2 separate regions of the Homo sapiens genome follow, and region 1 is linked to region 2. Evidence: promoter capture Hi-C in human tissues and cell types (Jung and others, 2019). All regions are on one chromosome and are shown on one strand. Each heading gives the region's core, a stretch centred on a gene start or on the middle of the fragment in contact. The rest is flanking DNA. Distances are from core to core; before and after follow the strand shown.

Evidence for each region. The method cuts DNA at HindIII sites, captures the fragments that hold promoters and counts their contacts. A contact is called where the count stands out against the background at its distance.
Region 1: a fragment that was not itself captured here is called in contact with the fragment with the promoter of COX4I2 in region 2 in 5 of the 25 tissues and cell types used here (H1 embryonic stem cells, IMR-90 fibroblasts, aorta and 2 more).

What each region holds. Positions count from the first base shown.
Region 1 is chr20:31,553,981-31,559,101 of GRCh38, reverse strand. It overlaps HM13 (histocompatibility minor 13), which reads right to left. Exons shown (of 13, transcript NM_178581.3): 8 at 4,273-4,356. Among named protein-coding and RNA genes, the nearest start is that of MCTS2, 9.2 kb to the right of the region's middle. RefSeq lists an enhancer at 3,853-4,352. The HindIII fragment of the contact is 6,275 bases long and covers 615-5,121 here.
Region 2 is chr20:31,635,420-31,640,533 of GRCh38, reverse strand. COX4I2 (cytochrome c oxidase subunit 4I2) reads right to left here and starts at 2,622. Exons shown (of 5, transcript NM_032609.3): 1 at 2,572-2,622; 2 at 1,435-1,516; 3 at 437-601. The coding sequence starts at 1,516. RefSeq lists a silencer at 2,562-2,701. The HindIII fragment of the contact is 12,374 bases long and covers 1-5,114 here.

The DNA of each region.
Region 1 (5,121 bases), core at 2,503-5,002, 83 kb after region 2:
ACTAAAAATACAAAAATTAGCCAGACATAGTGGCATGTGCCCGTAGTCCCAGCTACTCGGGAGGCTGAGGCACAAGAATCACTTGAACCCAGGAAGTGGAGGTTGCAGTGAGCCAAGATCGCGCCACTGCATTCCAGCCTGGTGACACAGCGAGACTCTGTCTCAAAAAAACAAAACAAAACAAAACAACAACAAAAAACAAAAGCAAAAATTAGCCAGACGTGGTGGCAGGCACCTGTAGTCCCAGCTACTCGGGAGGCTGAGGCAGGAGAATCGCTTGAACCCAGGAGGCAGAGGTTGCAGTGAGCCGAGATCACGCCACTGCACTCCAGCCTGGACGACAGAGTGAGACTCTGTCTCAAAATACAAAAAACCCCAAAATGAGCTGGGCATGGCAGTGCACGCCTGCAATTCTAGCTATTGGGAGGCTGAGGCAGGAGAATTGTGCTTCCCATGTTGTAAGAAGGTGTAACAGGATGAGACCTAGGCTGGGCAGGGGTGAAGGAGGGGAAAGAAGGAAGGCTTCTTGGAAATGCCACACGCCAGGAGGAGAGAACAGCATGTGCAAAGGTCCTGGAGAAAGAGTGCTCAGGAGATGTGGCAGGGACTGAGGGGTCACTAAGGCAGCTTGCCTACTGGCAGGAGATGAGGAGATAGACCAGCCCTGCAGGGCCCCGAGGACCATGGGGAGGAGTTGGGTCTTTATCCTGAGTGAAGAGACGCACTGGAGGAGTTCTGAGCAGAACAACCTAAACACATTTTGAAAAAGGCCCCTGTGGCAGTGCGTGGCTGGAGGGGGGAGGAGGAGGGGCAAGCAGTGGGCTATTTGAAGGCTCCACAGGAGCACAGGAGAGGGTTACCTCGGTCCACCCACTGCACTCTGAAACTTGAAAACCAAGCCAATTGTAAGCAATGGTTCTGCTAAAAAAGAAAAAAGAAAAAGAAAGAGACATCCCGGAAGCCTAAGCAACCCCAAAACACAGCCAACCAGTCCTGTCCCTGTGCTATACGCACACCCTGTGTGTCGCCTCCCTTACTGGGCTCTGGGCTCTGAGTCTCATTTACTTGAAGGAAGGCGCTGAGAAGCACTGCCTGGCCGGGTGCGGTGGCTCACGCCTGCAATCCCAGCACTTTGGGAGGCCGAGGCAGGCGGATCACCTGAGGTCAGGAGTTCCAAGACCAGCCTGACTAAAATGGTGCAACCCCGTCTCTACTAAAAATACAAAATTAGCTGGGTATGGTGGCACATGCCTGTAATCCCAGCTACTTGGGAGGTTGAGGCAGGAGAATCACTTGAACCTGGGAGGTGGAGGTTGCAGTGAGCTTAGATTGTGCCATTGCACTGCCTGGGCAACAAGAGCAAAACTCCATCTCAAAAAAAAAAAAAAAAAAAAAAAAGAAGCACTGCCTGTCAACTGTCAACATATGATTAATTTTAAAGAGGGAAATGAATTAGTTCTCAATGAATACTCTGTAGGAGTAGGGAGTTGGTTGGGGATAGAGCAGACAACTGCAGTTATTCTGGAATCAAGCTGGGAACTCAGTGCCCCCTGGCGGCTGATTTCTACGAGTGTTCTCCAACTAATCCAGGGGTCAGAGCTCTGCCAGGGATTTTCACTCCTAAAGTGCATCTGGCCTTCCAAACAACGCTCCACTGTGATCAACTTACATTTATTGTGATTGCGGGACTACTGGGGATATATATAGAGGGTGGGGAAAGGACAGATATGCCGAGATGTCCTGTGCCTGTCTCAAGCCTGGAACTTATGACAAGGACACAGGGGAAGTTTGTGTGGGTGAATGACAGACCGTGCCCTTAAGAGTGAGCCAGATGCTTTACAGGACTCCATTTCTTTTGTCTGACAGAGATGCCTTCTACTGGGGAAGCAAGTCTCCCTGCCTCACAGCACTGCAAATTATGAAGACACATGGGTGCAAGCCCATACCCTCGTGGCCTCAGGCAAGTCAAACCTCAGTTTCCTTATCTGTAAAATGGAAATGCCCTCTATCTCACTGGACTGCTGGGAGAAGTAAAGATGACATATAAAAAGTACCTAGCACCATTCTTTTTTTTTTTTTTTTTGAGATGGAGTCTGGCTGTGTGGCCCAGGCTGGAGTGCAGTGGTGCAATCTTGGCTCACTGCAAGCTCCACCTCCCGGGTTCATGCCATTCTCCTGCCTCAGCCTCCCGAGTAGCTGGGACTACACGCGCCCGCCACTACGCCTGGCTAATTTTTGTATTTTTAGTAGAGACGGGGTTTCACCATGTTAGCCAGGATGGTCTCGATCTCCTGACCTCATGATCCACCCGCCTCAGCCTCCCAAAGTGCTGGGATTACAGGCTTAAGCCACCGTGCCCGGCCGGCCACCTAGCACCATTCTTGGTACACGACAGGTGCTTGATAAATGGTAGCTGTTGTGATTACCGTCTTATTACTGCTAGTGCTGCTGTAAGGAGCAGTTCTGACAGCGTAGCCTTTTTTGCAGTTGGACAGTGCTGGTCTGAGTCCTGGCCCTGTTGCTTACTAGTGTGTGAATTTGTATCATTCCCTTTACTTCTGAGCTTCAGTTTCCTCACTGGTAAAACAGGGAAAGCCTCTGTGTCACCTCCATGTGTCACAAAATGCAACTGTCACAAATAGAAGTGCCTGTATCACCCTAGGTGATCAGAATTGCTATAATATCCTACCCTGGAAAGTAAGTCAGCCTTTAATCTGCTGCTTTAAAATAATTCCTCTTCTTTTAAAAAATATAGACGGGGTCGGCCAGGCGTGGTGGCTCATGCCTGTAATCTCAGCACTTTGTGGGGGCCGAGGTAGGTGGATCACCTGAGGTCGGGAGTTTGAGACCAGCCTGACCAACATGAAGAAACTCCATCTCTACTAAATATACAAAATCAGCCGGGCGTGGTGGTGCATGCCTATAATCCCAGCTACTTGGGAGGCTGAGGCAGGAGAATCGAGAATCGCTTGAACCAGGGAGGCAGAGGTTGCAGTGAGCCGAGATCGCGTTATTGCACTCCAGCCTGGGCAAGAGCAAAACTCCGTCTCAAAAAAAAAAAAAAAGGAGAAATAATAATTTTATATATATATATGGTCTCACAATTTGCCCAGGCCAGACCTCCTTCTTTAAGAGACAGGGTCTCACTCTGTCACCCAAGCTGAAGTGCAGTGGCACAATCATAGCTCACTGCAGCCTTGAACTCCTGGGCTCAAACGATCCTCCTACCTCAGCCTCCAGAGTAGCTGGGACTACAGGCATGAGCCACCACGACTGGCTAATTTTTTTTTTTTTTTGTAGAGATGAGGTCTTGCTATGTTGTCCAGACTGGTCTTGAACTCCTGGCATCAAGTGATCTTCCCCACGCAGCTTCCCAAAGTGTTGGAATTACAGGTGTGAGCCACTGTGCCCAGCTAAAACCTTCTTTTAAGCAAGCTTCTAACCCTCTCACTCTGAGGCTAGGAAGACAAGTATGTCCCTTGGGTTCACTGCCCCCACAACTGGGCCCAGATAAGCAGACACACCCGAGCCTCAGCCACTTCAGCAGCTCAGCTTTGCCCTTAGTCTCTTTCCTGACTGGTAGTTTGAGCTGCTCCTGCCCCAAAGTGAGGCCAGGCTGTGGTTGCGCAGGATGTGCTATCCTGCTTGGATTGTGGACAGGGCCCGTGTCCATACCCACAGACACACTGACTAGAACCCACACGCAGATCCAGGGGCTCAAAGGCCAGCCTCTGCAGATAAGCAGGTGTGCACGCACATGCTCCTCTGCTGAGAGTGCAGACAGGAGCCCATGTGTGTGTTCTCCCTGGAGATGTCTTGGCACAGGGAGGAGGAGCAAGGGGGCTAGGGCAATTCTGGTACATCTGTGATGCTTGCAGATGCTGGGAAGGGGTATGTGTATGTGTGGGTGTGTGTGACAGGGGTCCAGTCTGTTAAGATTGTCATGAAACGTGCTTTTTCAGAGTGTACCTCAATCTGTCATTAGACTTTTACTTTTGTAGTTCTTGAGCAACATCTGCTCACCTAGACCAGAGGCTCTGTGAAGACAGTCTTGTTCACTGACACCTGACCAGGACCCAGCTTGGGGCATGGCACCTGACTGGCCCTCCGTAAACGGATGTTAAGGGGGAACCCTTCACCAATCCCTGGCCTGATCCAGCCTTACCTTTTCTCTTTCTCAGCTGGTAAGCCTGTCTGTTTAGCAGTAATCCCCTTGCTCCGGGGAATACCCTCTCCACCCCTTTCACATAGCCCCCACACCAGCAGGCTCACCTGGAATGACGACATCTCCAAGTCCCAGCATGGCAAAGTTGTTTGCTTCGAGGCCTTTCTCCAGCAGATCCTGGGGAAACACCACTGAAGCGGGAGGCGGGAATGTGAGGAGTCAGCTGGAGCCCAGTTTACATTTTTTTTTTTTTTTGAGACGGAGTCTCGCACTGTCACCCAGGCTGGAGTGCAGTGGCGCAATCTCGGCTCACTGCAAGCTCCATCTCCTGGGTTCATGCCATTCTCCCGCCTCAGCCTCCCAAGTAGCTGGAACTACAGGCGCCCACCACCGCACCCAGCTAATTTTTTGTATTTTTAGTAGAGACGGGGTTTCACCGTGTTAGCCAGGATGGTCTTGATCTCCTGACCTCGTGATCCTCCCGCCTCGACCTCCCAAAGTGCTGGAGTTACAGGCGTGAGCCACCGCTCCCGGCCTACTTTGTATTTTTTTTTTTTTTGAGACGGGGCTTGCTCTATTGCCCAGGGCAATGAGGACTGTAATCGGGAGTGCAGTGGCACGATCTTGGCTCACTGCAACCTCTGTCTCCTAGGCTCAAGTGATTCTCCTGCCTCCTGAGTAGCTGGGATTTTAGACGCCCGCCCCATTTTTGTATTCCCAGCTTACTTTGACTCCTAACCCCCCATTCTTGTTGTATGAAACTCACACATTTGTTTCTGGGTGGGATGTGGGGGATGGGGACGTGAGAGGATGCAGGGCAATGTCTCCATCTGGAGTCACAGCTGGTTAGAGTGGGGAGGAATAGGGTCATCTAGGCTGAAGATTTAATGCCTTTACTGAGCTATAACTCAAATAACCATACAATTTCAACGCCTTTTTATAGCTATTGAACCCTT
Region 2 (5,114 bases), core at 1,373-3,872:
CCCTTCCCCATGCAGTTCCCACTCCCTGGCAGTGCCCTCCTCTTCACCCTTAAAGGCCAGCTGGAATGTGCCCTCCTCTGGGAGGTCCACCAAGATTTCATCTCACAGTCCTTGAACACACCTCACCCTAGCCACATGTTCTGTATTACAATTATTGGAGTCTGTATTGGTTTTCCCCACGGGACCGGGGGCACCATGGGGGCAGGAACTATCCAGGTGATTCACCTCATGTCCCCAGCATTGCCTAGCATCAGGCTATGCACAAACAGGTGAGTGAATAAAGAAACGAACAAAGGCATGAACTTCACCCCTCAGGTGTTTGGAGGTTTCTGGCTGTCTTGGGGGCCTCTCTCTGCCCTCTGATCCCTGACAGGCCATTCTTTCCAAAGTCAGCCCCCAACCCACTCTCTCCAGCCAGCCCCACCCTGACACTTACAGGCCACCTTTTCGGCGTGGGTCAGCTGGGTCCAGCTTCCCTTCTCCTTCTCCTTCAGGGCCTGCTCCTCAGCGTTGAGTTCTGTGCAGAAGGGCTCTTCTGGCATGGGGTAGTAGCGCTGGGCATAGCAGTTGGTGTAGGGGGACATCTTCCCCCCACCACGGGCTGCAGACACAATGGAGGGAGCTGAGTCCAGGCTGCCCTTGGGACACCCTATCTCTAACTATATTAATAAAGAAGGTGGCCGGGCTTGGTGGCTCATGCCTGTAATCCTAGCATTTTGGGAGGCTGAGGCGGGTGGATCACGAGGTCAGGAGTTCGAGACCAGCCTGGCCAAGACAGTAAAACCTCTCCTCTACTAAAAATACAAAAATTAGCCGGGCGCAGTGGTGGGCACCTATAATCCCAGCTACTCGGGAGGCTGAGTCAGGAGAATTGTTTGAACCCAGGAGGCGGAGGTTGCAGTGAGCCGACATTGCGCCACTGAACACTCTAGCCTGAGCGACAGAGCAAGACTCTATCTCAAAAAAAAAAAAAAAGGAGGTTTATAATAGCTTGGGGTACTAGTAAGGGCTCAATAAATGTTATCTTTGTTATTCTCCATGGGTCAGCAAGGCCCTTCTGCTATCTGGCTGAAGTCTCTCCTACTTTAGGTCTCTTTCTTCTTACTAGCATTGAAACTAGGGTCTGGAAAGGAGGAATCAGGGTCCAAGGTTCTGTCAGCATCCTCCACCTCAGAACAAAAGGTCTAGGGGCCTGAGGCTTGGGGGCTGGCTCCTAAGGAAGCTTGGAATGGAGATGACCACTGTCTGCTCACCCCGCGCACTCCATTTCCTGGAGAAACTTGACCTTGGACCAAGGAGTGGGATCATGGGAACATGGGAAGTGTGGTAGGAACAGGCCCAGGGTGGCATGGAAGGGCAAAGGGGGCAGCCTGCAGAGGGGACCCCTGCCCCTATCTCTGGAGTTAGGCAGGGAGGAAGGAGTCCAGGTCTCACTGGTGCCTTCTGAGCTGTGCATCCCTCGTCTTCCACCTCCACCTTTCCTCAGCACCAAGCTCCAGGCAGCTCTGGGGAGCATCTGGGGGCGTGAAGGTATAGATGAGTTCTGCCCCCACATCACCCTCTGCCCCCAAACCGCAGGGCCAGATGGAAAAATCCTTTTCCACTGGTATGGTAGTGGTAGGGGTGTCCCAGTGTTTCAAGGTCACCCTCATGCCCTTGACCCTTCTAATTTTGTCTGATATCCCCAGCGGGGGGCCAATGGGGGTCCTAGACCTTTGAAGCCCCTTTTTGGGACCTCAATTCACCATCTGAGAAGTGGGAGGAGGCCTAAGTCTTGGGCCAGGGTCTGAAGAGTTTGAGGCTGAGGGCTTGGGTTCTGGTGCCAGCCCCAGCTCAGTCTGGCCAGATTGGAGAACCCCGCTCACTTGTTTGCTCCCCAGAGGAAGCTGGGTGGGGTCCAGGTGGAGAGGGAGCAGTTCTTGAGTCTCTCTTCCCTGCAGGGGCCAGAGGCCCCTGCACCGGCAGAACAGACAGACGGTCTGGCCCCCACCCCTTCCCCCCTAATTGGCTGCCTACGTGCACACAGGCCTGCTCTGCTGGATCTGGTTGGGGTGGGGACTGGGCTTAGCCAGTCTGGCTGAGCCCAGTCTCCCACCCCCAGGGAAGACTCAGGGTTTGGCATCCATGGTGGTGGGGAGGGGCTTTAGAGGATGGGGACTTAACTGGGTCAGAGGGAGGGAGACACACATCTGGGGAAAAGAAGGGGAGTCCCACATCTAGGGAGAGAGAGGGGCACCCAACAAATAGAGTGAGGGAGGGGGCACACTACAGGTGATAAGTGGGAGGGGGCGGCCCACACTTCTGGAAAAGAGGGGCTCCGGCCAGTGATTATGATTAGTGGGTGGGAGAGCTCCACATATCAAGAGAGGGAGGATGTAATCTATATTTGGGGAAAGAGATGGCACACATATGCAGACTCCCCAGGAGTCTTCAACTCTAACCTACAAGAAGCCCCCCAACCCTCTAAGACAGGGACCACTGGGGCGTGACCCAGCGGCGAAGGCAGGAGACCGAGCCGCGCCCCTGACCCGCGCGGGCTTGGGTGGCGGGGTCCTCCCCCAACTCACTCACCTCGCGGGCTCGGCAGTGGGAGCGCGACCTGGGTCTGCCCAGCGAGCAACTGAGAACCCGCTGCGGAGGGACCTGAGTGCGGGCGCCCGCCCCCGGCCCGCCCCACAGCCTTTCTCGGGGCCGCCCCAGCGTGGGAACGTCCTGCTTCGGCAGGGCGTGGGAGCGCACAGCCTGCGTCCCTGGGGGCACCCCGGCCCACAGATTGGGGGGAGGCACTGCAGAGCGCCTCCTGCATCAGTGTCCCTACCGGGGTCCTGCCTCTGGAGACCCTCTGCAGACAGTAGTCCCAAGAACAGGGTCTCCCTGCCTCCTCCACACCTCCCCTCCTTGCTGTTTCTCCCACCTGGGATGTTCTCTTCAGGCCTTTGCAGACGCAAACCTTCCAGCCAGGCCCAATGCCTCCTACTCCAGAAGCATCTTTTAGGCCAGCAGTGGCTCACGCCTGTAATCCTAGCACTTTGGGAGGCCGAGGCGGGAGGATCACCTGAGGTCAGGAGTTTGAGACCAGCCTGCCCAGCATGGCGAAACACCTTCTCTATTAAAAATAGAAAAATTGGGCGGGCGCGGTGGCTCATGCCTGTAATCTCAGCGCTTTGGGAGGCCAAGGCAGGCAAATCACGAGGTCAGGAGTTTGAGACAGCTTAGCCAACATGGTGAAACCCCATCTTTACTAAGAATACAAAAATTAGCTGGGCGTGGTGGCACGCACCTGTAATCCCAGCTACTCAGGAGGCTGAGGCAGGAGAATCGCTTGAACCCGGGAGGCGGAGGTTGCGGTGAGTCGAGATCCGGCTACTGCACTCTAGCCTGGGCAGCAGAGCTAGACTCCATCTCAAAAAAAAAAAAAAAAAAAAAAAAAGTTAGCAGGGCGTGGTGGCGCGCACCTATAGTCCCAGCTTCACAGAGGGCTGAGGCAGGAGAATCACTTGAACCTGGGAAGCGGCTGTTGCAGTGAGCCGAGATCGGGCCACTGCACTCCAGCCTGGGCAACAGAACAAGACTCTGTCTCAGAAAAAAAGAAAAAGAAAAAGAAAAAAAAAATTCCCAGCACTTTGGGAGGCCAAGGGGGGCAGATCATGAGGTCAGGAGATGGAGACCATCCTGGCTAACACAGCGAAACCCCGTCTCTACTAAAAATGCAAACAAAATTAGCCAGGCATGGTGGCAGGCGCCTGTGGTCCCAGCTACTCAGGAGGCTGAGGCAGGAGAATGGCTTGAACCCGCAAGGCAGAGGTTGCGGTGAGCCAAGATCATGCCACTGCACTCGAGCCTAGTGACAGAGCGAGACTCCATCTCAAAAAAAAAAAAAAAAAAAATAGACAAGGCTCAGGCACATTTATTCAAGAATTACTTATAAAACTGGGCGTGGTGGCTCATGCCTGCAATCCCAGCACTCTGGGAGGCGGAGGCGAGCAGATCACCTAACGTCAAGAGTTTGAGACCACCCTGGCCAACGTGGTGAAATCCCGTCTCTACTAAAAATACAAAAATTAGCCGAGTGTGGCAGGGGACACCTATAATTCCAGCTACTCGGGAGGCTGAGGCTAGATAATCGCTTGAACCTGGGAGGCAGACGTTGCAGTGAGCCAAGATCGCACCACTGCACTCCAGCCTGGGTGGTAGAGTGAGACTCCTCAAAAAAAAAAAAAAAAAAAAAAAAACTTAAAAAAAACTTATAAAGACCTGTTTCAGCTGGCATTTATTGCATACTTGTTTACCAGGATAAATGTTGGGGGCTATAGAGCCAAAAAAAACCAGACATAGTTCCTGCCCCCACAGGGCTTACAATTCTGTTCTAGGCAGAGGAAAAGGCCTGTGCAAAGACCCAGAGGCAGGAAAACACAGCATGTTCAAAAAACAGAAGAGACAGGCCAGGTGCAGTGGCTCACGCTGTAATCCCAGCACTTTGGGAGGTCAAGGCAGGTGGATCACAAGATCAGGAGATCGAGACCAGCCTGGCTAACACGGTGAAACCCCATCTCTACCAAAAATACAAAAAATTAGCCAGGCGTGGTGGCATGCACCTGTAGTCCCAGCTACTTGGGAGGCTGAGGCAGGAGAATCGCTTGAACCCGGGAGGTGGAGGTTGCAGTGAGCCAAGATTGCACCATTGCACTCCAGCCTGGGCGACAGAACGAGACTCCGTCTCAAAAAAAAAAAAAAAAACAACTGAACAGAAGAGACAGCCAGGTGCGGTGGCTCATGCCTATAATCCCAGCACTTTGGGAGGCCGAGGCGAATGGATCACCTGAGGTCGGGAGTTTGAGACCAGCCTGGCCAACATGGTGAAACCCCGTCTCTACTAAAAATAAAAAAATTGGCCAGGTGTGGTGGTGCACATCTGTAATCCCAGCTACTCGGGAGGCTGAGGCAGGAGAATCGCTTGAATCTGGGAGGCGGAGGTTGCAGTGAGCCAAGATCCCACCGTTGCACTCCAGCCTGGGCAACAAGAGCGAAACTCCATCTCAAAGCAACAACAAAAACAATAACAAAAGAAGAGAGGTCATCTTGGCCAGAGTGTCATGGTTAAAGGGGAGGCTGGA